6 separate regions of the Homo sapiens genome follow, and all the other regions are linked to region 5. Evidence: promoter capture Hi-C in 16 types of primary human blood cells and fetal thymus (Javierre and others, 2016). All regions are on one chromosome and are shown on one strand. The core of a region is centred on a gene start or on the middle of the fragment in contact, and the rest is flanking DNA. Distances in the headings are between cores, read along the strand shown. Region 1 overlaps VSTM4 (V-set and transmembrane domain containing 4). Region 2 overlaps LOC124902545 (a long non-coding RNA gene). Region 3 overlaps VSTM4 (V-set and transmembrane domain containing 4). Region 4 overlaps VSTM4 (V-set and transmembrane domain containing 4). Region 5 holds the start of DRGX (dorsal root ganglia homeobox). Region 6 overlaps WDFY4 (WDFY family member 4).

Region 1 (4,546 bases), core at 1,824-4,323, 360 kb before region 5:
TATCACCATCATCATTATCACCACTATCATCACCATCATCAGTACCATCATCAATACTATCATCATCATCACAGTAGTGTTAGGTCATAGACATGATGTACAGGGCACAAACCAAGCATTAAAACCAAATCTAAAATAGCAGTAGGTATGCCTGATTATTTGTTAAATTCATGTTGCATGCAATGTCGGCAATGGGCACATATGACTGAACTAACAATTTTTATTCTTCATCTTTCTATGAACACTCTCACGATAAATTTATGAGGCTATGTCTTATTGTCTTTTGGTGATCACATGTGCTCGTTGGAAATTCATAAATTTAATTTTAAGAAGTTATAATAATAAATTAGAATTGATTCTGGCTAGGAAAAAAAATCTCCTTAAATGCACCATAAGTTTATTGCAAACTCAGAATTTTACATAGAAATTTTCTTCTTGATATTTTGGGTGCCTAGCTTGATGTTACAGATATGTTGATGATGTTTTTCTTTTCTTTTCTTTATTATTTTTTTTTGAGACGGTGATGTTTTTCTTTCTTTCCAAAATGGCACTTTATTTCTAGTATTCTCCATGTAGGACTGAAAAAGTCTTTTAATAACTCTGAGGTACTCTGTGCTCAAAACTGAAGTTTTAAATGAAATAGGCTTTAAAAATGTGAGCAGAAATGATATTGTTTCATGAGATTTCAAAAATAAAATGCAGAGAAAAAGTTTTTAAAAATATTTCCCAGCAGTGCAATGATCTCAGAAATGAAGTGCCCAATAACGGCAGCAAATCAGCCACGCTGAGATGGAAAACAAGCTACTGCTCTGCAGGGAGGGACAGTCTCTGCAGGCACGTGGGGACAGCGTGCCCCAGAGTGGAGCCGCACCATGACACCTGGGACCAGGGTGGACTGCACAACCAGGAAAGGCCACCCATGGGCTGGCCTGCTGGATGTGCAGGCCTGCCTCCTGCCTAGGCCATCCTCCAGCCCAGCACATCTCCCTGCACCTGCTCACCTTGGTCAGGTGACTCCCAGGCTCATGCTCCCACCTCTCTGGCACCTTGCCCCCTGCCTATCAGCGCTCAACAATTATTGGGGAATGAATAAATAGAAGACTGGGAAAGCAATGTGAATGAATCAGTGATGCATTAAACAGGAGAAGCACATAGTCCTGAGGGGGCCAATTCCAAAGTCAAGTTCCTTCTCAAAGCACAAAGCCACATTACCCTTCTAGAACAAAGTGGGGACAACTCTGTTGGTAGCAATCTGCAGTAGGATTCCCTTTGTCTCCCAAAAGGGAGGCCTAAGGAGAGCTTAAGGAGCTCCCCAGTTTTAAAACATTTCTTGAGGCCAGGTGCAGTGGCTCACACCTGTAATCCTAGCACTTTGGGAGGCCAAAGTGAGAGGATTGCTTGAGGCCAGGAGTTTGAGACCAGCCTGGGCACATAGCGAGATCCCAGCTCCACAAAAAAAAAAAAAAAAAAAAAAGTTAGATGTGGTGGCACATGCCTGTGGTACCAGCTACTTGGGAGGCTGAGGCAGGAGGATCAGTTGAGCCCAGGAGTTTGAGGCTATAGTGAGCTACGGTTGCCATTGCACTCCAGCCTGGGCAATAGAGCAAGACTCTATATCAAAAAAAATAATAAATAAATAAAGACTCCTTGAAAGTAACTGTGTCACTTAGCCCACCTTCAACAAAATTGGAGCCCCAGTGAATTTCTATTGGTCTCTGACACAGCTGAGAAGCACGTGACCTGGTTCTTGCTAGGCAAGTGTTGGCAGGGGCAGGCAGTAGAGGGGCCTTGGCACTAACTGTGTGGCCTGCAGGGAAAAGACAGCCCTGTGTCAAGGTTAACAGACTTCCTGATACAGGATATTCTCACTTCCAGTGTGGGAGAGATATGATCTTGATCACATCCAGCTTACCGAACGCCGAGATACCTGCTCTCTCTAGACTGGAGGAAGCCATGAAAGCAAATGGCTTCTGTTTTCCGCACGCCCATCCCTTCTGAAGCCTCAGCATCCGTTCTTCCCTCCAGCTGACATACATAACTCCCCGCAACAATAATGGGCTGTGCATGTGTACCTAGGGGAGCATAGAAATTTTATCTCTGCAAAAATGGTACTAGCGTGGTACAAGCAAAGTTTGTATTTTTTTCCCAAGGCTTTTACTTGGGGCAATATATTGTACATGTGGTTGTGGCTTTTTTTCTTCTTTTTAATTTTAAATCGAGATTATGAACATATTTTATGCAGGTTAATATATCCTTTTCATGTAAAATTTAACTGAAACCAGTTCTAGCACATTAACGACAACAAGAGAAATTCTCTGGCTTATTATAAACATCCTTCAAGAAACCTGAAATGCATGTCCTCTGGAAATAATTTTGCTGGGATTTGGGTTATTATTAAAATCCTCTCAGAATTCTATCACTGCTTTCTAATGTGCTTCAAAGTCCTTTTCTGCTACTGATAAGAGACAGATTCTTTTTTGGCCCTGGCAGTACATTCTCAATGGTGAAAACTAGGGCCGGGGGAAGAAACTTCTTCCCAACACCCAGCAGATGTGGAACAAGGCAGGGCATCTCAGCCCTGGGCTGGCCACACTATGGTTTTCAACAGCGCTATGGAGGAGGCAGGTTCCTACGGCAGGGTCCCTCTGAACAAGGATGAATGAACTACTTCCTTTCTGTCCATTTTGAGCATTCTAATCTTTGGGTTTCTGTGAGAAGAGGGAGGCTTACTGTGGACTGTAAGCTTGAGGGAATCACAGGCAAGTAAGTCTTGGTCACCTGGCCAAGTGCTACACTAGGAGATCATGGGGCAAGGCTACATATACCTGGTTGACATACGGATGAGCTGTTCTGGAAAGGTTTGCAGGAATTAGGGAGAGTCACAAGGACTTTTAGAATTCTCATATTTAGTTTTCTCCTTGTTGACAGATAAAACAACTCCCTTTCTCCCCAGGGGGCTGACCTGTCTTACTAAAGTGAAAGCAGAGTCCTCTCTGGAGGTGGGTGGCAGCGGCTCTGGATCCTGATAGCGTCGACCCCACCAGAGGTGCCTACTTAGTCTGAAAAGTTAGTCAGAGCCACACTTCTCAAACTTTACTGTTTATCATATTCATCTGGGACCTCGTTAATTGCAGGTTCCACTTCAGTAGGTCTGAGTCAGGGCCGGAGATTCTACTTTTCCAACAAGCTCCCAGGCAGTGCCTGGCCTTCTGGCCCACAATTGGAGCAGGGAGGACTCAGACTAAGTTCCAACCACAGATCCTCCCACGCAAACATTATTCATCATTCACTCCATATACATTGGCCAAAGGGGCGCTCTAGTGACTCCAGGTTCCCTGCTGAGGATATCATTAGGGGTAAGACCAGTTCTCCCTGACTTTAAAACCAGTTCCCATGTAAATTTAAAGCTTCTGGGAATCAAGGGACACAATTAACAGAATGAAAAAGTCACTACAGGACAGGTGAAAATTTTGGCAAATTATGTAACTGATGTGGAATTAAAATTCACAATATATAAAGAACTCCTACAATTCAGCAACAACAAAAAATCAAACAATCTCTTTTTTTAAAAATGGTCAATGGACTTGAATAGCCATTTCTCCAAAGATAGACAAATGGCTGACAAGAACATAAAAAGATGCTCAACATCACTCATTAGGGAAATGCAAATCAAAACCACAATGAGATACCACCTCACACCCATTAGGATAGCTACTATCAAAGAAAAAAAAAAGGAAACCAACAAGTGTTGGTGAGGATATGAAGAAATTGAAACCCTGTGTGCTCTTTGTAGGAATGTAAAATGGTGCAGCTGATTTGGAAAACAGTGTAGCAGTTTCTCAAAAAACTAAAAATGCCATTACCATCTGATCCAGCAATCCCCCTTCTGGGTATATAACCAAAATAATTAAAAGCAAGAACTCAAACAGATATTTGTACACCATGGTCACGTCAGCATTAGTCACAACAGCCAAAAGATGGAAGCAACTCCGTTGTCCAGCAAGGGATAAATGGATACAAAAAATGTGGTATATACTTACAATAGAATATTATTAGGCCTTAAGAAGAATGAAAATTCTCACACACACAGCAACGTGGATGAATAAGGACATTATGCTAAGCAAAATAAGCCAGTCACAAAAGGACAAATACTGCATGATTCCACTTCTATGAGGTTGCTAAAGCAGTCAAATTCATTGAGACAGAAAGTAGAATGGTGGAAGCTAGGGGCTGGCTGGGTGGGAGTGGGGGGTGTTTCTTGAGTACAGAGTTTCAGTTTTGCAAGATGAAAAGAGCATTGGAGATTGACCACACCACAGTGGGAGTGTTTCACATGACTGAATTGTACACTTAAAAATGATGAAGATAGTACGTTTGCTGTTATGTGTATTTTACCACGATTTAGCTTCTGGATGGGAATGCCATGGGCTAAGGCGGGATATCCCATGCACACTGAGGTGTGGGGCAGGCCATGAGCTCCGTGTGTGCTTATGTCATGGCGGATTTGAGGTGCCTGTGGGCCCTCCAGGGGAGTGTCTGGTCAACA
Region 2 (4,322 bases), core at 1,393-3,892, 280 kb before region 5:
CATCTCCAAGCAAGAAAAGCACATGTTAGGTCTATTCTGTGTGTGTCTATCAGGAGAGGTCTTTGTGGAGTTCCAGTGAGGGGTAGCAGCAGCTAGCAGGTGGGCCCTGGTTGGGAGTGGGTCCCTGTAGGAGGAGGAGGAGACAGGGCCCTCATCTCCTTCCCTCTAAGGGAGTGAGGAGGTGTGGGTGGCATGGAAAGAGGGTGCAGCCCACTAGTGTGAGCCCCAGGGCATTCCCCAGAGGGACCATCCTCTTCAGGCACCCCAGGCCAGTGGGTGCAAAGGCTCTGTGACATCTCTGAACCCCAGGCACTTCCAGAGGTCTCTGGACCCCATGGGATCCTCCAGCTAGGAGACTCATCTGTGGACCAGGGCCCTGCAGGGACTGGACTGACCATCAAGGCAGCCAGGCTGGAGAAAGCAGCCCCATCTATAATTTGGGTTGGTGGAAGGGCCTGAGGACCCGATAGTGAGTTGGCAACAAAGGTACTTGGCTATGATGCCAAGGACAAGAAGTGAGGACTAGAACTGGGGTCAGATGGACTCCTGCAGCCCAGGAATGCAAACTAGAACCAAGTGAGGCTTCCAGACCAGAGTTTGGAAACCAATTTTATACATGAGCAAACGAGCCTCACGTCCCATCCACATAATGTCCTAGGCCTCATTTTACAAATTAGTAAATTCAGGCTCAAAGAAGACCAGGGACCCGTACAAGGTTCTGTGGGGCACCAAATGTCTGAACTGGGAACTTGGACTCTGACTGCAGACTGTTGACTCAGCCCTGGAGCCTGGGGCAGTGTTTGGCAGACTGAGGGAGGATGTCTGAAGAGGAGCACTGGTTCTGAAAGTGGATCTGTGACCCGCTCTGGCTGGGCAACAACCTTGGGTCCTGGAGCAGCACAACCTCTCTGAATTTCATTTGTCAAGTGAAGGTGACACATGTAAAATGGCGTCTTGACATGGCTGTACTAAGAGCAGCTAGAGATGTGGCAGGGCCATTTGGTATCCTTGGTAACCTCCCACCTCAACCTGCTGGTCTCAATTTACTCTCCCAGTTGGTGAAAAGCAGAAGGGACCCCTTAGATGTGTCAGCCACCCTTGGAGGAGGCAACTCCTGCTTTGGTCGTTGTATATTGCTAAATATCCAACTCTCATTGCAAAACAGAGCAGAAATTCAGCCTGCCACCCTTGACTTGCTTCGTCTTTACCAAACTGGGGTTGTGCCAAAGATTTGAGGCTAGAAAGTGCTTTTCTTGTACTTTTCTGCTACAGGTAACATTGTGCTGATTTTACAGCTGTGTGCACTGCTGGTACTTTTCAGCTTCCCATATAATCTAACTGATCATCCTGGTAAAACCTTTGCTGCATGAACACAGGAACAAGGGAATATACTCAGCCCTCATGGGAGACAGAGCCAGTGACCCGGATAAGACTTGGCCTTTCAGCTCTTCTGGACTACATTGGCAAAGGCCTTCCAAATGGTTTTCTTAGCTCTGCTGCCTGCTCACTCATTCACAAGCTTAGGACCATTTGAAAATCCTTCACAGGCTTCTTTGTCCATACCTTGGCTCTATCAGGTCTTACTTTGTACTGAATTGGAAGAATAATACAATCCAATTCTATTTTTTGTTTACCTCATAAGAAGAGGGTGTTCAAACCATTCTAAAGTTGATCCAGATTCCTGTGGACACTAAGCTATATGGAGAGCCTACTCAACTAATCCTGTATTCTACCAGTTGCCACTGAAAGAATCTTAGAAATCCAGATTTTCTCCAACAAGTGCATTCTGCTATCACCTGGCAGGCCGGGGCTTTTCCTCTTTCATTATCCAATTGTTTGTTAGAACCTGGGTCAGAGATGGAAGAGTACAGCATGGTTTTGTAATGGACCTTGCACACAGCAAATATATCCCTAAACTAAGACCATCAAGCAAAACGAAACACCCCTCTTCTAAGGTGTTTAGCAGATTTCCAAGTGTTACTTTTTCAGTCTAGGTTTCTAAAAGTAATTTTGAATATTTGCTCCTCCCTATTGTTCACAGGCATTTTACAGCTAAAAGCAGTCAGCTACATGCTTGAATTGCCACTAAAAGAGAGTTCACTCTAGAGAAAAGCAGTTATCAGCTGTGACTGAGAGAGCAGGGAAAGGATAAGAAAGAGGAGAGATCGTGGTTACAGACAATGCAGCCATCCAATCAGAAAGATATGCCTAAGGCCCCTGGGGCAGAGTTTACATGAAACCTTCAGCACCGTCTTCTCCCTGCACAACTGGGGAAGGAGTATGGACTACACTGTTTTTCCCGAAATGTACAGAAATGTGAAGCTATAGGCCTGACAGGATGTCTAGATAGAAATAGCTTCTAACCAACCTCATTGGTGACCCCAATAGAGGGACGTGATTGTGAGCTGATGCCAAGGGCTCTGCAGGCCGGCTGGATGCAGCAACCTGGACCAGCTCCCAGGAAACGGAAAGACATGGCCCCAGATTCCTAGAAGGCTCCAGATGGAGGTGATTGAAATGAGGGAGGGACTAGGAACCAAACAGATGTCTATAAAACTGACCACAAAGAAAACATCTTAGAACTGACCACTGATGTATAAGACTAAAAATCTCAGTCTATGCCTTCTACTTTTATTGAACATTCAGTGAGCAAAAGACAGACTGAAGAACTGTTCAGAGTAAAAGAGGTTAAAAAGACTTATCAACTAAGTGAAACGTATGATCCTAGATCCTTGATGTGGGATCAGGAAAAAAATGCTAAAAAGGACATTATTGGTATGACTGGCAAATGGACTATATTGTATACTACATACATTTCCTGAGCATGATTATGAAAGAGAATGCCTTTACACTTGTTCTTAGGCGATCCACACTGAAGTATCTGGTGTTAATAGAATGACTGTAAATTACTCTTAAATGGTTCAGCAAAAATAACAAGTTTATCTATAATATGTATTGTATAATATATATATGGAAAGAGAGAGAGACACAGGGAGAGAGAGGCAAATGGGAAAGTCAGTAGATCTAGATAAAGAGCATATGGAATTCATTGTACTATTCTTGCAACTTCTGTAAGTTTTCATTTTTTTCGAAGTAAAACTTAAAACTAAAACTTGTTTATTACTTTTATGATATCTCAGTGTTTTTATATATATGCTGCTCATAGGCATCATGTAATTATTGATCAGTATCATACATATTACATTATTTCATCTATTGTAAGGTACTATTAATTATAAATTGCTTCCTCCCCATGTCAAAGATGTTACAGTAAATGCAGTTCTGATGTTTTGTGAATCCAAGCAGAAGACTTAGGCTTCAGGAAAATTCCCATTCTGCATTCTTAATAACTTAGAAATAAGGGAATAAGACCTCTGTAAGTCCTCTACAGAGACACAAAGACTCCCAGCTTGGAGCAAGTCTAGACTAAAAGTGTTAGAGAAGCAATGGATTGTAACCAAAGTCTAGTATGAGCTGGTCTGACACACGTGGCAGTTTGACTCCTGTGGAGGTAAAGGCATCAAGCTCTATCAGCATGCGACTCCTGTAAGGCTCTGACTCACTTCCCAGCCCTTGGCATGAGAGCCCATCACCCATCAGGAGAATCTGAATGGCATTCAGTTCCATATTCACAGAAGAGGCAAATCGGTTTCACAAACACCCATAGTCACATTAAACTAATGTTGTTAGTTTGAGTTTTATTGCTGTTTGCAATTGTGTTTAATTTACACATTTGGTTTTTGTTTTGCACTTGTAAAGCAACTATAAGCTTAGCTGTTTGTGTTTGTGCTGCTTTATTTCCACAGCAATAACTGAAGTCAAGGCAGGGTCCATAGGAATGTTTCTTGGCCTTTGAAAAGAATAGTAGTCAAGTTTGCCAAACATTGCTTTAGGGAATTCTCACTCTCTTTTCCCAAGACTGATGGCACCCCAGCTCAGTAGTCCTTGAGGGTGTGCTTGGAGGGACTGCAGTAAGTCCAGCAGCAGATGGTACATAAATCCTCAGGAGTCAGGAGTCATTTGTGAGCCTCTTCACAGGGTCCTTGTGCTTGGCCCGAGCTAGGTGTTAGCATGGCCCAGTGCAGAGCAGCAGGTAACACACACACACACACACACACACACACACACACACACACAAATGTATGCACACACATGCACACATGAGCTCTGGCTTCTGGTACCCAGGCTGTGGGCTGTAGACCTGACATTTTCATGAATCTCTTTACTCTGTCTTTTCTAAAGCTCAGCACATCCTCTTTGTCCCTGTGCCCAGCTCATTTTTCTGTGGGACCTTCTGGTCACAGGGAGGGAAGCATTTGAGG
Region 3 (4,192 bases), core at 352-2,851, 330 kb before region 5:
TCCTATATAAATCTCTTATTTTTGTAGGCAGTCACCCAGGTTTATCATGTAATCTTGGTCTGCTTCTATGGGCTATAGTTCCAATGGCATTTTCATTTTCAGAGACTTTACAGTATTATTTTGGTCTGTTTGGTTTATATGGTGCCACTGGGCCCTGCTGGTGCTGCCAGAGGGGACAGAGAGAGTTTCCTCAGATTTGGAAGCTGGATGTTTTTCAGTAGGGGAGAGAAGCCTCACACCCATGGAGATGAAGAAGCTTCCTTGCTGGGCCACTTTTGTGTCTAGGTGCCTCTTGCTGGCTCTTCCCTGAAGGCTTGGTGTCACCTGGTTGAGGAAGGGAGTCTTAGCCTGGAAGAAAAAGTGAGCTCTTCCTCTGGTGCTCATTGTGGGAGGAGCCCCTGATCCATCCTCTTTGCAGCTGATGCTGGGCTCACTTGAGGTTTTCAGGGGAACTCCCCTTTGATCCAGGGGAGGAATGAGCTTACCTGAATGTTTTCTGTTGCTAGATTGGAGTAGGAAAAAAGCAAGTCTGGGTGACCTTCTGCTGTTGGATGGGAAAACATAAGATGTCTAGCAGTTGTGTTACTCCTCCAGTCCTGGGATTCCAAACCAGTTTACCTTCTTTTCACCACCTTTCAAAGTCTTCATTTGGTTGTCTCTTATGTTATTTCCAAGGTTTAAAGCTTTACTCAGCAGGAAAGAGAAGGAAGAAATTGACCTATGCCATCTTGTCTGGATCAGAAGTCCCAAATTTTTAAACGCTTTGAATTAGCACTATCTCTTATAACTATTATGTTACCTATAAAGTGTGCCTCACCAGCTAAAAGCAGGGCATACAGTAAGTCAGCATTGGTGAAGAGAATTGGGGGTGTTTGTGGTCAAAATGTATCAAAGTGGTTCAGAGCAAGTGTGAGCCCCTTCCTAAACTGGGGAGCAGCTCTGCAGGACCATACACCAAGCCTCCTCCAGCAAGCCTGCTGGGCCAGCAAAAGCTGCATGCTCTCTGGATCCCTGGGGGTGAAAACCAGACTGTAGACCTTGGAAACATGCAAATGCATGCAGGATACACATTTGCAGGCATATTTGTGGACAAATATGCAGACTTTTAGGTAAAACTACAAATTTAATCAATTTATTGGTAATATCAAAAGAAAGTTAAATGGCAAAGAGTTTCATCTGAAAAAAGGAAGAAAATATTCTTACCTGTTCTGAGGGCATTTCACCAAATAATGTCTCACTGTGAAAGGAAAAATAATAGAAGATGGTAAACCAATGCTACTTCAGATATATATGCTCCAGGAATTACAAGGAAATGCCGGGAGCCAGGTGTTGTTCAGGTATTGGTGCTATACCACCCAACTCTCAAGACTTGCATTCTTCTGTTTGGAAGAGCACAGCAGAGCCATCACATGAACACAACAGTGACTGGATATGTCCCAGCCAGGGATCTAGCCAGGCATTAAGCCATACACCCCAGACTTCCTGGGTATTCATTTTGGGCCAAGGCAGGTTAAGTTGGGATCCTGGAGTAATAGAGTCACTCAACCTCTAAGCTCTGCCTGAGTCATAAGAAAGCCCTCTTGAGGCCAGATGGAATAACGTGTCCATTTAGAAGCTCCTCATTGAAAAATGAGTTTGAATTCTCTGATTAATGCTCTTCCAGGACTAAAAAGAGGCCCTCGGGAAAAGAGTCTTGGACCAAAACCTCCTCCTACAGGAAAACCAAATGATTCTGGCTGCAGAGGAAAAGTAAGAATACCTAGGCACATAATCCAGCAAGTGTCCACTCTGAGGTTCACAGCTGAATTTACTTCAAATAGAGGTAAAGCTGAAACAACCAGGGGGACCCTTGAATTGTGTGGTAGATTGTTACATCAGTGGACTCAGTGAATCACACCTCCTTGTATGTGTCCACACCCATGTGTACCCCCTCCCAAACTGACTCTGGGCTTGGCCATATGAACTTGCTTTGGTCAAGAGAACATTAGCCAATGTGTCACAAGCAGAGGTGTAAAAGACACCTGTGCTATGGGGTTTGCCCTCTCTTGTTGCAGGGAATTTTTCTGTCACCACATGAGGAAGCCTGGCTAGCCTACTGGAAGATGAGACTACACGGAGCAGACACCAGCTGTCCCAGCCAAGGCCCCGAACAACCAGGTCCCAGGTAATGCATCAAGAGACTGCAGCTGCATGAATGACTCCAGCTGAGACCAGCAGAAGAAATGGTCAGCTAAGCCCAGCCCAAACTGGCAACCTGTGGAATTGAGAGCAGATAATAGTTGCTTTAAGCTGTTACATATGGGGTGATCTGTTACGCAGCTTCCAAAGTAAGATGAGAGAATCTCAGCTTCAAATGGAACTGTACAGGTTTATCTCGTTCAGCCTCCTATTAATACCTAAACTCTTTCTGTATTCCATTTACCGAGCATCTACTGTATACTAGATAATCTATAGATGCAACAATAATAACAACCATAGTTAGTATTTATCGAACATTTCATGTGTCCCTGGCACTATTCTAAGCTTATTAGATGGATCAGTGGTCTTCAGTCTAGGGTCTGGATACCCCTGGGTACTCTTTGGCAAAACAGTTTTAAGGAATCACCTTAACATCCTCACCTCCCATGGTATTCTTTCCTAAGAATGCATTCTCTTAGAACATGCCTGAGGTCTGGCCGTATTCATTTCCCTTCCCCACTTTTAACATCACCCTTTTCTATTCATAAAATCAAAGCACACCATCCTGGAGACCTGTCCCAGATTGAAACGTAAATGAGACATCAAACAAGAATTAATGTAAAATACTAATATCTGTGTCAATAAAGCAAATTATTAACTAGGCAACTAAATCTTTCACAAGGGGGGGATGTTTCTAATACTTTGCTTTCAACAAGGATTGAATAATGACCTAATCCAATTGTCATCTGGTAGAGTATTAAAAATCATTTTGGATGATAAATCATGATGTGACTTTTGACATATACCTTGGAAGTAGTTCTAAAAATTGAGGAGTATAAGAAAATTTCATTCATTCATTCATACTCTGTTTATATTGAAGTATTTCAGAGCTAATATCTATTAACAAAATTGATGATAAATTTTATCCCTAAAAAATTCATACCAGGGTATATGAAGTAAAAATAAAAATCAATTTCAATAAAAATGCATTCCCAATAAATTTTGCTTTTTATGGCTATTATGTATCTAAATTTATGATATGTTTATGTCATCTTGATTAATCTTATGCTAATTTTCCAAAGTTTACTAATTGTGCAATACTAATAAGTCAATCTAAAAAATATTTTAACAGACACTTATGAAATGAGGAAATTAAAAAATTATTAATTTAAATTTGTACACACATATTATCTTACAGATAAGTAAAATAGGGTAATCAATAAAGAACCTTCAAAACAAAAGATGTATTACAGTAGGATGAAATTTTGTGGGGAAGTGTACTGAAGATAAAAATTCAAGGAGAAGAAGGAACAATACAAAATTTCTAACAGTTAAAACTTGTTTGGGTAGGTACTTTTTTTCTCATGATGGCTTTAAATAAATGAAGACAGTCATTAAATTCAAGACATTTAGATGTGAAAGAAAGATGGATCTAATCATTTCATTTTTAAGATGTCAAAGATGGAAATTACATCTTTCGCAACAATTTACATTTATGATGAAAAAGTTTAGATGTCAACAAAAAAATGATTGAGTGCATAGTTTTTGAAATTATTTTAGGAACTATGCAAGCAAAAAAGTTTGAAGACCACAACTTTGCATTCTAACTTAATCTTCACAGTAGCCTTGTCATTACTTTTATCTTACAGCGGAGGACACTGAAGCACAGAGAGGTTAATAAACTTGCCCAAAGTCACTCAGGTGATGTTACGGGCTGAATTATGTCTCCTCCACTGAGCCTAACTGAAGCCTAATCCTCAGTACTTCAGAATGTGACTGTATTTGGAGATAGGGTCTTTAAAGAGGTAATTAAGTTAAAATGAGGCCATTAGGCTGGGCCCTTATCTAATCTGACTAGTGTCCTTAAAAGTGAAGGAGATTGCAACAAAGACAGGCACAGAGGGAAGACCATGTGAAGACACAGGGAGAGCAGCGGTCTCTAAAGCCCAGGAGAGAGGCTTCAGGGGAAATGAATCCCGCTGACACCTTGATCTCAAGACTTCTGGCCTTTAAA
Region 4 (4,532 bases), core at 1,579-4,078, 380 kb before region 5:
TTCCTCCAGAGAGTCTATCCTAACTCCTTCCTCCTTTTAGTTTCCTGGACACCTCGGGATTACTTCTCATTAGGTTCTTATACCAGAATGTCTTTTGGTTCTGATATAACTCATACTTCCTATGACATAATAGGAAGAGCACAGGATTGGTACTGGGAAACTCTGAGTTTGAATCCAGCTCTGCAACTAACAGTGTGGCCTTTGGCAAGTCTCTTAGGATGACCCTGAGCCTCATTTCTCAGAGCTATCCTGTAGCAATGATGCCACCTGCCTTTCAGGGCTGCCATGCAGTCCCTGGCACCATGTCTGGCAAGCAGAAGATACTCTGGCAACAGTAACCATCATAGGATGTTTTGCCTATTGGTGTGCTTCTATGTGAACACATGAATACCATGTGAATTCAGTGTCTGACATAGTAGGAGCTCAGCAAAGATTTACGGAACTGACGTTGACCTCTGAAATGTCCCTTGAGCGAGCTAAGCTTATCTAGGAGACAGTTCCCACTCCCAGAATGGCTGACTGTGCTTCTTTCAGCGGGAGGTGCCCAGCTGCCACCTTCCAATGAATCCTCCCATCCAGCCCTGCTGGAGAAGGCTGGGCCTCAGCTGTCCTCCAGGGTTGGGCAGGGAGGCCACAGACAAGAGCCAGGGCATGAGGAGCTATGGAAGGGGCAGAGAAAGCCTGAGTCCAGATCCTGATGCCCACCCTGCATCTCTGTTACCTAAACTCTCCTTTAAATCGTGGTCTTTTGTATAAATGGTGGGGAACGAAAGGGGAGTTTAAGTAGACAACCTCTAGTATCTCTTTTAGTGAGGACATCCTATAGAGAGGTCATGTTCCTGGAAACCAAGTCACCATCTTCTGGCACCTGGGAAGGCCTGCACTGCTACCTGGGGGTGGAGATAAAATCTGCCACTGCACAGCGAGGGCCTCCTGAGTCCCACTCCCCGGCCAGGGCCTTTCTTTGATTGTCCTTCCATTAACGTGCCAAAGAACACCCAGAAGGCATCTTCCCAGGTATCCCTGGGGTCAGTCCTTATTATGCTCACCTGCTGCTTGCCTCCTGAGGGCTGAGGCACTTCCCATTGAACTTGCCAGCTCTGTGCTGCCACAGGGGCTGCCATCACAGCCAGCAGCCATGTCAGTGGTGATTGGGGTTGGGAGAGCATGGGACCCCACCTGGGCTTCCTGCTCTTCCGGTTCCAGATGCTGCTGAAGACAGGGCTGGGTGGCTGGCTGCCTGTGGGGATCTCACCAGTCCCAAGGCCTGCTTGCAGCGCACCACGGGCTCTGATCATGGCCAATGCTGCCACTGCCATGGGACACGCTCATGCCCAGCACAGGCCTGCTCTTGCAACCGTGAAGCTCCACACCACGCTGGGCTGGGCTTCCAAGGTGGCAGCTCACAGCCACCGAGGCCTGGGTCAACAGCACAGAGGGGAAACTGCAGAAAGGTAGGCGGGAGCCAGGTATGAAGGGCCTTGCTACTCCTCGAGGTGCTGGGCATCCTGAGGGCAGTCGGGGCAGGATGTTGGGCAGGGGTAACTCGGCCAGTCTGCATGTCGGAGGGTGGGTTAAATGGCAGGGAACAGGTCAGGAGTCAGAGTGGTGGTCCATGAGAGAGGTGATCAGAGCTGATGGGAAGCAGGAGCTATGTGAATGAAGACAATGGGGGAGGTGCCGGCATGCAGGGGAGATGGACAGGAGAGAGGAGGGCTCCAGCTCTGCCATCCTGGGCCAGCTAGCTGAGGTCTTCTGCTTCTTCATCTGCAAATTGGCATAGAGTAGCACTGGCTTAATGAGATAAGACAGAAAACATACTTACCACAGTGCCAGGCACCTGGTATTTTCAATAAGTCAGCAGTGATTCCACTGCTGCTGCCGGTGGCCCATATCTCCAATGCTAGATTTGCAGCTTTAGCCATGGGGTGAGCGGTGGAGCCCTAACCAGGATGGCTGGGTATCAAGAGATGCAGGGTGCTCTGATGCATTCAGTATTGGGTGTATACTTCCAGGAGTCATGAGGGAGCTGCAAGGGGGGAGCTCGTGGGTGGACATGGAGCTCAGGAGAGGGCTCCACGGGGGCTGTGGAGGTGGGGTCCTCGGGATACAGCTGAACAGTGGTTGAAAATAAGACATTCTCTGCAAGAGAACACATGCTCAGCAGCGAACCCCAGAGGGCTTGGGCAGAGCTGAGTTCAGGGGAGGGGGAGCAAAGGCAGCCAGCAGAGGGTGAGAGACAGACAGCAGGGAGCAGGCAGTGTAGACTCCAGGCTGCAGAGAGAAGGAACCAGAGGAGAATAGTGGCTTGGGAGGGGTCTGTGCAGGTTGAGAAACACTTGTCATTTTGGAGATAGAAGGAGAAGTTGAATGTGCAAAAAAGATGAGGGGTTACATGGTAAAGGAGAACCCCAAGGAAACTAGAAATGAATCCTGATGAGGTGGAAGAATGAGGAAGCAGGAACAAGACATTGTAAGAATGAAAGAGCAAAAGAACTAACACAACTAACTCCATTTTCAATTAAGGGAGCCCTTATCCATTCCTGCACGTAGGCTAGGATAATTTTAGGGCACTGAGATAAAATGCAAAAACAGCAATCATGTAGTTTTTGAAACTGACTCTGGGATTAAAGGAGAAGTATGTAAACAACTATGTTTCGTTGAAGGTTTATAGGAGCTTTGTGATCTGACCAAGGACAAAGGAGTTTCCAACTTCCTGGACCCTCGCTGGTGCCCAGATGTTAGCAGTTGTTGGTCATGTCTTTAACATAAAAAGAGCCTAGAATTTGTACTGACTTGAGATGGTCTCTGCAACACTAGTCTGCCATCTCCTCAGGCTGCCAGCTCTTGAATAAGCCTGCTTTTCCTTCCACTAAATCTTGTCTCTCAAGTTTGGCTTCCAAGCAGTGAGCAGGAGAACCTGATTTCAGTTACAACATTTTAAGGAATTCCAAACTGACTATGAAATGGGCTGGGGTGCAGTCACAGGGCACTCAGAACTGGGGTACTGTGAGAACCTGGGAACCCACACATGGGCTGAGGGAGAAAAGAGATGGAGGAGACCCCACAAAGGGGAGGATTGGGAGCCCCAATCCTTAGCTGAGCCAAAGATCAGCCCTGCAAGAGGTCAGGGTTCTTCCAGCCAGCAGGAGTGAGGGTGGGAGCAGAGAGGCTTCCTGGAGCCAGAGCTCAGTGCAAGGGGCAGTTTTAGGGTTAGAATGCCTGGGAGGTCGCCAGGCTGGCAGGTACCTTTCCATCTCCTTAGTTTGCCCAGCTTCCTCATGATGTTCTCTGGGTCCATTGTGGCCAGGACACTGGCTTAGGACCCTCTCTAAAGTCTCCATCTTTTGTGGACCACAGACCCCTTTTAGAAAACTGAAGAGAACATCAGACCCTCACACACACAACACAAACGTCTGCATAAAAATTCCTGGGTGTTGTTGGCTTCCCTGAGATCCATCCACAGACCCAGGAGTCTGAGGTACTAAGTGTACACATAAACAGGAAGTAATCACCCTGGCCGCCCCCAGCATGTAGAAAGCTGTCATAAAGGAAAACAGAAGGCTGATTCCTTCAGCACAGCCCAGAACCCCATACAGACCACCTACTAATGAGCTTTCTCCTCGTTGTTGATGGAGGACGCTTGTAATAAAGTTTAATGTGGAAGAACAAGGTGCATTTAACCAAAGCTGTAAACATCTCTAATTATATTTAAAACTGTAGAGTGCAGTACATTAACATTTAACAATCAGACACTAAATTGGAGTGACGCTAATAGCATTGTGTTTATTAGAAATTGGGCACCAAGTCGTCTTTCACCAGTGACAACAGAAGGAACAGAAAACCTCCATGGCCACCCTTCCCCACCACGCTGCGTGTTCAGGAAGAGTCTTGTCCAAATCCCCACCCCCTGAGAAGATGAGGATTGCTCTGGGGAAAATACACTCAGCAGACCAGACACAGCTCAGCGCCCACGTCTGTTAGCCTTAGGCACTGGGGAATGTTTTTTTTTTCCCAGAGAAAGAAAGCACTTTTAAAAAGCAGTAATCAATTAATTCAGAATGAGCAAAGGCTTAACCTCTATTCTCCCTGCCCTCTGCAGAGTTCACACTGCAGATCCCTTCTTCCTTTGAGACACCCCTAGGAGCAGCTTTCTCCTGGCTCTCCCCTGCTGCTGTGACTGTCACTGTCCTCTGATCTCCACCTGGATCTCCTTGCCTGCTGCATACCTGCCAGCATGGATGCTCCCCACTGCTCAGGCCCAGCCCTTCCCCTCCTCAATGTGCAGGCAGCCTCTCCCTGGGACTCTTGCCCGCTGTCAGGGCTTTGGCTGTGACCTATGCCCTGAGGACACCCCCTTTCCCGCAATGAGCACCAGATCCATGTTTCCAACAGTTTACATCCTTGTCACTCAAAGTGTGGTTCAGGGACCAGAAGCATGGACATCCCTGGGAGCTTGTTAGAAACTCAGAATCCCAGGTCCTATCCCAGACCTCCTGAGCCAGGATCTACATTTTTTTTTTTTTTTTTTT
Region 5 (4,124 bases), core at 1,524-4,023:
GGCAAAACACATATTTTAAAAATACATAAATGAGAATTAAATCATGTTTTTCTTGAAGGAATCACAAAAAAAATAGCAGATACTTTTAGGAAAAGAGGTGGAAAAGGAGGATTTTGCTTTTCAATGTATAAGTTTCTGTTGTATTCAAACTTCTCAGGCAGGTGCCAGTAGTACTTTTTAATGTAACATCAGCAAAATTATCTGAGAAGTAAGATTATGAGCCTTTCTTTCTTTTCTCCCTTATGCCTATCTAGATTAACAAAAAATTAAAATAAAAAAGATGATAGGCTATAATTATGTCATATTCCAAGGGTCTGTTCTCAACTTTTCCATTTGCGGGAGATCCCTTTCACCCAGCAACACTAAACTAAACTAAATTACTCCTTTCTGCAAAACTGGCATAGAATCACATCTACAAAGGGATGAAAGGCTCTTAAAGACCCATCTCCTTTTCTTCTGGTTATATCACAGAGTCAGCACTGAGGTGGGATGTGCCCAGGGTGTGGGGAGCACAGTAAGCCAGCTGAGCTGGGCTGAGAGCTGGGGTCACCGCAGGCCAGGCCAGGACTCTCCCTAACTCACTGCTGCAGTCCACCCCGCAGACAGACATTCATGACGTCCCCTACCTGCCAAATGCCCAAACTTCTGCCTTACCCACTTTGACCAGAAGGGTGGGACACTGGCTGGCAATTAGTCCAGACCCCTGGTTCAGATGCACAGAGAAGGCACCCTTAACATACAGAAAGTCTCCCTCATCCCCTAGGGTACACTGTCAGGGGATGCACGTCTCCCACCCTTCCATAAAACCCACCCTGCATGGGAACTTGGGGATAAAATGTGAAATGCAGGCAAATGTGTGGCCTTCCCTTCCTAGGAATGCTGACAGAGCTAGCAGGGCTTAAACACTGGTCCTCATTAGCCTCCTTTAGAAAATCCTATTGGACTCTTAAGAGCTTTTATGAGAAAAACAAAAACAAACTTTCTGAGGCTCAGCCACTGCTCAGGGCAGCCTGCAGCAAGACTGACAAGCATCACCTGAAGTCTCAGGTCTCCTAGCGCCTCACAACATATACCCTGCCCCTTGTCTCCCACAACTACTTGGCTTCCCAAATTCTCCCACCACAATAATAAATCAAACGAGTAGGTTGCCAAATGCCAGTCCGACGGTTACAAAAGTCCCAATACCCCAGTGCTGAGACTGCTGCTCTGCAGAAGGCCCCATTAAAGCCCACAGTGTGGCATTGGCTCACCTGATGGCTACTAATTGGCCCCCTGATGTGAAGACCCCATCCTTGGATCCCTCGGGTCCTGAGCAGGGGCATGCTGAGGTCCCAACTGTCCCCTTCTCACCAACCCACGCCCCCACTAACAACTGGGTGCAGAAGCCAGACTGGGGATCCTGAGGGGAAATTTCTTCTCAGGCCTGGAGACACTCAAAGATGGAAATTCTGGCCTGGGGAGTGGGGAGTGGTCGACATTTAGGGTTAGTGAGTCACAGAGAAGGAGCCATGCTAGGTCAGTCCGGGCAGGTGGTGGGCAGGGCCACCTGGTTCCAGGGACGGCCAGGAGGCCGGGAAGGGAATTGAGCTGCCCAGAATCCAGGGCGGAAGAGGCCCCTGCAGTGTTCTCGCCAGCGGCCCCAGTGAGAGCAGCCCAGCGACGGGCCCTTGTAGGCTCGTGCAGCTCGTGATCTGGGCCAGGACGCGGCGGGTCCACTCGCCTTTGCTTTCTGGGATGTTTGCAGAAGCACCGTGAAAGATTGATGCGGCCCCCTGGGTTGCGGAGCCCCAATTAGAGGCGTGACACCAGCATCTGTGCTGGGAGGATTCGGCCGGTCCCCGCGGCACGCCTAGCCCGGGGCGTCCTGGCCCAGGCGGGGAGGGAGCTGGGAGGCAGGTGGCGACGGGGCGGGGAGCTGGAGCGGGCCTGGAGTGGGGTGTAGGGAGGGGTCCAGGGAGGCCCCTACTCACCGGCAGGCGGCTGCGCCCCCCGCAGGGCGGGGACCCAGCCACCCACCAGCCCTGCTGCCGCTCCGGCCCTTTCTGGCCGGCTCTGGCTTCATGGAGACCCTGGGGCGCAGCGCTTACTTACCCTCTAGCTGTGGCGGGCAGTGGAAATAAAACATCGCCGGCTGTCAGATCGGCTGGACGGCCGAGACCTGGGAGGGTGGCAGCAGAACGGACCCGCGCGCGTTGCTCCTGCCTGGCTGCAAAGCAAACAGCGATAGAGCTTCAAGTCTCCCTCTGCCAGCGCTCCCGCCCAGCCCTAGGGCGCACCCGGCGCTCCCCTCCTGGAAAGTCCCTCCCAACGCCCTCATCTCACTGCGGGGGACAGGAGGGAAGGCGGCAGCCCCGTCGCAAGCAGCAACCCCACAGGGCAGTCCTTCGGGTGTGTCCACCTCCCGGACGGCCGTGCCCTCACCCTGGCCCCAGCACCAAACCCCGCAGCGTAGTTTCTGGCTCTCTGGGGTCCCAGCCAGAAGCCCTGCACCCGGGCCACCGCAGCCAGGTCCGGCTAGCGCGCAAGGCCATCTGCGAGCTGCAGCTCAGGCCAGGAAGGCAGCCGAGCCCCAAGGCCCGGCGCTCGGGGCCCGGCGAGTGGGTCAGGAGCCGAGCATACCTCGGCGGGCGGCGGTCGAGGAGGTCGGAGCGTGACCGCCTCCGATCCGCAAGCCCTGCTCGGCTGGCGGCGGGCGGGGCTCGGCGCGGCTGGCGCCCGCAGGACCAAAGAAGTGACTCGGGAAGTGGCCAGATGTCTTGCTGTCTGTCTGCAGCGCGCGCCGCCGCTCAGCACTCGCCTTTATAATCTCACGCATAATTGGCCTTAATCTGATTATTTCCAGCGCTGTCTACAGCGAGTAACTTGGATAGGTCTATTGGGCCTTACAAATGGCCCACGTGGTGTTAAAAAAAAAATCCGTCATTTCTCAGCAAACATCAGGAATGCTTTTTCCTCTTTTAAAAGAGAACGATACAACCACCACCACCATCACCCCCAAAAACATACATTTTCCGAAAACACACTAGGCCCCACCCCCCACCTCATGTCCCCTCAGAGGCAAACCTTTCTCCGAGAGAGCCTGGTTTGGGCTGCCCTTATCAAAGGCCTGGTGACTCCCGGGCTGCAAATTGGCAAAGCGCTGCTAATTGTCGCCGCCGGATGGGTTTTGGGGGGACTCTTTGCACACGGCTTCCCTTTCCAAACGATCGTACAAAAGGAAAGTTTGATTTTGTTCTCAGCAAGGGGTCCCTGAATTTATGTTCGCTTCTCGATGCAAATGATATGCGGTGGGACCCTTTGCAATTACTTTTAAAATGCATCCGAGGCAGACACTCAACGGAGAGAGACCGCCCTTCTCTCTGCCTGGGTGAAAATTAAACTCTAAAGTACCGGGCTGAAATTTTCAAGTCAGGGGCGCGGGATTGGATCAAATCACATAAACTGCAAAAAAAGCAAGTCTAATGGCGCATAATTGGTTCTGTAATAGCATTACACCAGGATAATAGCCCGTTACGGCCCCCTGCACTATTAAGTGCTTCCCTGGCGGAAAGCCTTTATGATATTAAAGGGGGAATATAATGATATTTTGGTTATTAAATGCGTGTAATTAATTTATGCACCACTGAAAATAAAGTTGGTATTATGACCCACTCAAGATGCATCAGAAGATGCAAGTCAGACAACTGTTGATAAGTTCTGGTGTCTGTGCTCCGTCTAGACTGCTGATTTTATTTTGGGACGATGGCTTCTTGGACAGACTACATAAATTGAATATTTTATAAACATTCTAATGCTGCGTTAGGGAGCCTTGGCGAGGTGGTGGGTCGGGTCCCTGCACGGCCCGGGATACAGCCTTGATCTTAAAGACGCAGCGCTTTGGAAACAAAAGGCCTGGCAGGCCCGCCGCTGGACACCAGCGCTGGGCAAGGAGCATCGAGCTGCAGGACAGAGCGCTGGGTCCCGGCCGCCGTTGACGCCCCTCCGAAAACAGCCGGGAGGAAGACCAGTCCCGCTCCGGTCGAGGCAAGTCAGGATCTATTCCAGTGAAGCGGCCCTTCCTGGGCTCAGTCGCTCCAGAGCAGAGTCTGCTCTGCCTCGGGGAAAGAATCACAGGAAACTTCCGC
Region 6 (4,216 bases), core at 1,684-4,183, 420 kb before region 5:
CCCCTTTGAAGCTGCTATCTCTTCCTTGATTTCTTCGGCTCTTGCAAATGGTAGGTGCTGGATGCCTTGTGGTGCTGGAGTCTCCAGGCTGGTCGGAAGGCAGCCAACCTGACCTAAGTGGGCAGTGCCAGGCACACAGGCTGTTTCCTGGGAAGAGCAGGCAGACTTGGTTCCACTGGTAAACAACACGTGCCGGCACTGGGGCTCAGAGCTCCTCTCTACATCCTGAGCCTTACACCTGGGTTCCCTTCTCTGTTCTCTTTGGCATTGCTATTTCCCCTGCAGTCAGAACTGAGTCATCAGACTTAGTTCATTCTGGGAAGAGATTCAGAAGGTTCCTGTCAACTCCTCTGCTTTCTCCTGCTCACTTAGGCAGTTTTCATTTTCCTAGGATGACCCAAATCTTCTTCTGTGGGTCATACCCATTAACTTGCCGGCACCATCTGGTTGGCGTCATGTTAGGATCCATTAAGGACAAACAGGAGCTTGTGGCAGAACCTTTCATTGCTATGACCGGGCAAAGTGACAGCTTTGAAAAATGACGCTTAGCCTCATTGACCCAAATGAATGAGTGATTGTCTCTGCCCTGAGGGTGGAGGTTTACCACTTGGTAAGCCAGGCCAATTACGCTTCAGAATGCCACCTCCGTGCCCCTCCGGCTGAGTCCAGGTGATGGCAAGCACATGTGAGCAGAGGACCTCAGATCAGAGCCTCTGGGACCTGCAGCCTCTGGAGTGCTGGTGATGGAATCCACACCATTGCCTGCAGCAGTTGGCCAGGGGGTACCAGCATGTGTGGTGGGCCACTTTGGCCCCTTGGGGAAGTGTCCACAGAGAAGAAGGCCTCCAGCCAGATCTGGACACACAGCCATCCATGAGTCAGACCAGGCCCCACACAAGCCAAACCTGAGGACCAAGACCAAGGACGTCTAAGTGTCCCAGTGGCTATGAATCCAGACCTATCAGACTCGAAAAGCCCCATCTTTTTGATGACCATGTGACCTCCCCTTTTCTTCTTCCCAGTTTAGTTCAAGAGTGCACGTGCCTCTGAGGTTCCCTTACCGAGATGGCTCTCAAAGTTGGGCACATGTGAGAATCCCCTGAGGGCTTGTGAAAATTCAGACTTCAGGGCCCCATCCCCAGCGTTTCTGATTCAGGAGATTTGGAGTGGAACCCAAGAATTTGCATTCTAAGAGGCTACTTGCTGCTACTGAGCCTGCTGGTGTGGGCACCACAGTTTGCCAACAGTGCTTTGTATGTTAATCGTAACATGAACTGGCCAGGTGTGATGGCTCACACCTGTAAACCCAGCACTTTGGGAGGCCAAGGCAGGTGGATCACTTGAGGTCAGGAGTTCAAGACCAGCCTGGCTAACTTGGTGAAACCCCATCTCCACTAAAAATAAAAAACATTCGCCAGGCATGGTGGCAGGCACCTGTAATCCCAGCTACTTGGGAGGCTGATGCAAAAGAATTGCTGTACCTGGGAAGCAAAGGCTGCAGTGAACTGAGATCATGCCATTGCACTCCAGCCTAGGCAACAGAGCAAGACTCCGTCTCAAAAAAAAAAAAAAAAAAAAAAAAAAACAACTCATGACATGAACTGCTCCCGGGTTCAAGATAGATGTAGGGCAGCACAAAACATCCAGGTGTGGCTAGCCTCTGGTTGGGTTATAAGTAAAAAAATGGTTTCTCCCCAGCAGAGCCTCCACCCCTGGAGATGAATGAAATGGAGAGGCTAGTCATGGACACGCACATGCACACACCCCCAGCTGCACAGACAACAGACTTGGGAATCACTGACTCACTCAGAATCTCCATTTCCTCATCCAGCACCCAGCTTTATAGGGAGGGTGAAGAATTCCCAAAAGTAGCTGAATTGAGGGTCCCTCTCCTAACCTGTGAGTCTCTGTCCCCAGGCCTTGTATGGACACACACAGGCTGTCACGTGCCTGGCAGCGTCAGTCACCTTCAGCCTCCTGGTGAGCGGCTCCCAGGACTGCACCTGTATCCTGTGGGATCTGGACCACCTCACCCACGTGACCCGCCTGCCCGCCCATCGGGAAGGCATCTCAGCCATCACCATCAGTGACGTCTCAGTAAGTCTCCTGTTTCTCAGTGTCCGTGTCCTCACCTTCGCAGTAGCATGGGGTACAACACTCAGGAGAAAGCCCAGAGACACAGAGACTCTAGCCACCCCAGAATGCTGAGAGGGCCCCCAATTGTGTGGAACAGTCGCTGTAGATCTCACTTGTAGCACCCAGGTCTAGCTTCAATGTCCGCTTCTTTACTTTCCTCCCTCTGGTGTTGGGGACAGTGGGAAGTGTCTGCTTTGCTGCGGGCACCAGGGGGCTGCAGCTGAAAAATTGGCTTTTAGGGAGGGTTTTGTTGGATGTGGCTGACTCATTTAGGTCTTTACCTTCAAATCAGTGTTGACTTGGCAGGTTTGGTCTTCATGGCAGTGCAAGCTTCTCTGCCTCTCCTTCCATACTGGCTAACAAAGACCAGGGAGATCGACTTACCGGTGTGAAATTTCTTCCAGACTGAAGCCCTGTCATGGGATATGGGGTTCCCTGAGGATGCAGAGGTTTCTGCATCTGCTCACAGAAAACCTAAGGGGCCCAGGGCATAAATAAAATGGGCAGAGGGCTCAAAAGAGGAGGGATGATATAGGAGCTTCCTGGTTCCAATTTTTGCTGAAAGTGGTGCTCCAGGTAGGCTTGAATTCAAAACTGGATTCAATGTTAGATGAGTAGATGGAGTGTGAATGGATGGGTGGATGGATGGGTAGATGAGTGGATGCATGGGTGGATGAATGGATAGATGGATGGACGGGTGGATAGATGAGTGGATGGGTAGATAGATAAATGAATGGATGGATGGATGGATAAATGAGCAGATAAATGGATGAATAGGTGGATGGAAAGATGGATGAAATGGATAATGGATTGGTAGATGGTGGGTGAATGGATGGATGGGTTGATGTATAGAAGGCATTGAAGCCTTCACCTGGGAGAATATAAAACCCATCAGGAATTGTGTCCCTAGACCCCAGAGAAGCCTGGCACCAGGACAAGTTGTCCTGCAGCCAACTGATTTCAGTCTGTGCTTGCTGGTTGTGGGGCAGAGAGGTATCAGACATGGCCTCTGGCCTCAGACAGACCATCCCTAACAATTCAGGAACTTCTAATGGATCCCAGCCCAGTGAGATGTGGAGGGGCACTGAGCACCCTACATCCCTTCTGTGATTAGGGCAAGGCTCAAAGGGATGGCCCCAGGACCTTGGTGACAGTGGCCACTATAGAATAAACAGGACTTGAGGAGGAAAGACTCAAATGTGAGCATATCAGGAGATACAATGGGGAAATTTCTCCTTAGAAATTCCCTCTTCAGGGACATTGCACAAGCTTATGAGCCACATGCAGTCATTGGAACTTCTGTACCCTGCCATCCACCAGGTGGCATCCAAAACTTCTTTATGGGGCAGGGCTGACCTACCAGGTGTAAGCTGTGTGTCCAAAGCCAGGGCTACCCTTCAGGCTGGATCTTCTGTGGCAGTCAGGGTGTGGTTGGGGAGTGGGATCTGGGAGGAGCCTGAGGGTGAGCCAGGTGCCTTCTGCCAGGAAAGAAGTATCTAAGCACATGACTGCAGTATGAAAAGAACCAAGAATTTACAACTGTGTGAAAACACAGCAGACCTGTAAGTCAGCTGGAAAGAAGTTTTGGGGTACCTTGGGGGTCTTCAGAGCATGACAGATTGAGAGTACTTGGGTGTACCAACTGGGTAGCTGAGCAAGTGGCTGATGGGCAGGCAGTGACTCCAGCTTAGAGTGATGCCAGCTCTCACTGCACAGGGCACCATTGTCTCCTGTGCGGGAGCACACTTGTCCCTGTGGAATGTCAATGGACAGCCCCTGGCCAGCATCACCACAGCCTGGGGCCCAGAAGGAGCCATAACCTGCTGCTGCCTGATGGAGGGCCCAGCATGGGACACAAGCCAGATCATCATCACCGGGAGTCAAGACGGCATGGTCCGGGTAGGTGTGTCTTGGGCAGAATGAGGACATGACACAAGAAACGTGTTCATCTCCATTCTTCTCACTTCCTCCAGGGGGCCAAACCTGCAGGTTGCATTTGAGACCATTCCAGAACGGGTACCTACAGCAAAGGAAGGGAAAAGACAAGGCTCTTTGCAGGGAAAAAGTAAATAAATAAAAT

The links. Contacts are between HindIII fragments. The CHiCAGO score rates a contact against its expected background, and 5 or more counts as called.
Region 1: a contact is called between a fragment that was not itself captured here and the fragment with the promoter of DRGX in region 5, in 1 of 17 cell types (M0 macrophages). The highest score is 5.1, in M0 macrophages.
Region 2: a contact is called between a fragment that was not itself captured here and the fragment with the promoter of DRGX in region 5, in 1 of 17 cell types (M2 macrophages). The highest score is 5.1, in M2 macrophages.
Region 3: a contact is called between a fragment that was not itself captured here and the fragment with the promoter of DRGX in region 5, in 2 of 17 cell types (total B cells and M1 macrophages). The highest score is 6.2, in total B cells.
Region 4: a fragment that was not itself captured here is called in contact with the fragment with the promoter of DRGX in region 5 in 2 of 17 cell types (M0 macrophages and M1 macrophages); the score reaches 6.8 in M0 macrophages.
Region 6: a contact is called between a fragment that was not itself captured here and the fragment with the promoter of DRGX in region 5, in 4 of 17 cell types (M1 macrophages, M2 macrophages, megakaryocytes and 1 more). The highest score is 8.7, in M1 macrophages.

Annotation. Positions count from the first base shown.
Region 1 is chr10:49,034,218-49,038,763 of GRCh38, forward strand. All of the region lies in intron 7 of VSTM4 (V-set and transmembrane domain containing 4), which reads right to left. Among named protein-coding and RNA genes, the nearest start is that of MIR4294, 51 kb to the left of the region's middle. The HindIII fragment of the contact is 664 bases long and covers 2,742-3,405 here.
Region 2 is chr10:49,116,438-49,120,759 of GRCh38, forward strand. LOC124902545 (a long non-coding RNA gene) reads right to left here. Exons shown (of 2, transcript XR_007062371.1): 2 at 3,679-4,322. Among named protein-coding and RNA genes, the nearest start is that of VSTM4, 3.1 kb to the left of the region's middle. The HindIII fragment of the contact is 2,250 bases long and covers 1,518-3,767 here.
Region 3 is chr10:49,063,500-49,067,691 of GRCh38, forward strand. VSTM4 (V-set and transmembrane domain containing 4) reads right to left here. Exons shown (of 8, transcript NM_001031746.5): 5 at 1,204-1,237. Among named protein-coding and RNA genes, the nearest start is that of VSTM4, 50 kb to the right of the region's middle. The HindIII fragment of the contact is 1,840 bases long and covers 682-2,521 here.
Region 4 is chr10:49,010,607-49,015,138 of GRCh38, forward strand. VSTM4 (V-set and transmembrane domain containing 4) reads right to left here. Exons shown (of 8, transcript NM_001031746.5): 8 at 3,630-4,532. Among named protein-coding and RNA genes, the nearest start is that of MIR4294, 27 kb to the left of the region's middle. RefSeq lists a silencer at 1,314-1,569. The HindIII fragment of the contact is 4,698 bases long and covers 480-4,532 here.
Region 5 is chr10:49,393,316-49,397,439 of GRCh38, forward strand. DRGX (dorsal root ganglia homeobox) reads right to left here and starts at 2,774. Exons shown (of 7, transcript NM_001276451.2): 1 at 2,620-2,774; 2 at 2,092-2,206. The coding sequence starts at 2,125. The HindIII fragment of the contact is 25,200 bases long and covers 1-4,124 here.
Region 6 is chr10:48,972,945-48,977,160 of GRCh38, forward strand. WDFY4 (WDFY family member 4) reads left to right here. Exons shown (of 62, transcript NM_001394531.1): 58 at 1,918-2,097; 59 at 3,853-4,035. LOC105378298 (a long non-coding RNA gene) reads right to left here. Exons shown (of 4, transcript XR_007062370.1): 4 at 4,035-4,156. Among named protein-coding and RNA genes, the nearest start is that of MIR4294, 11 kb to the right of the region's middle. The HindIII fragment of the contact is 939 bases long and covers 2,465-3,403 here.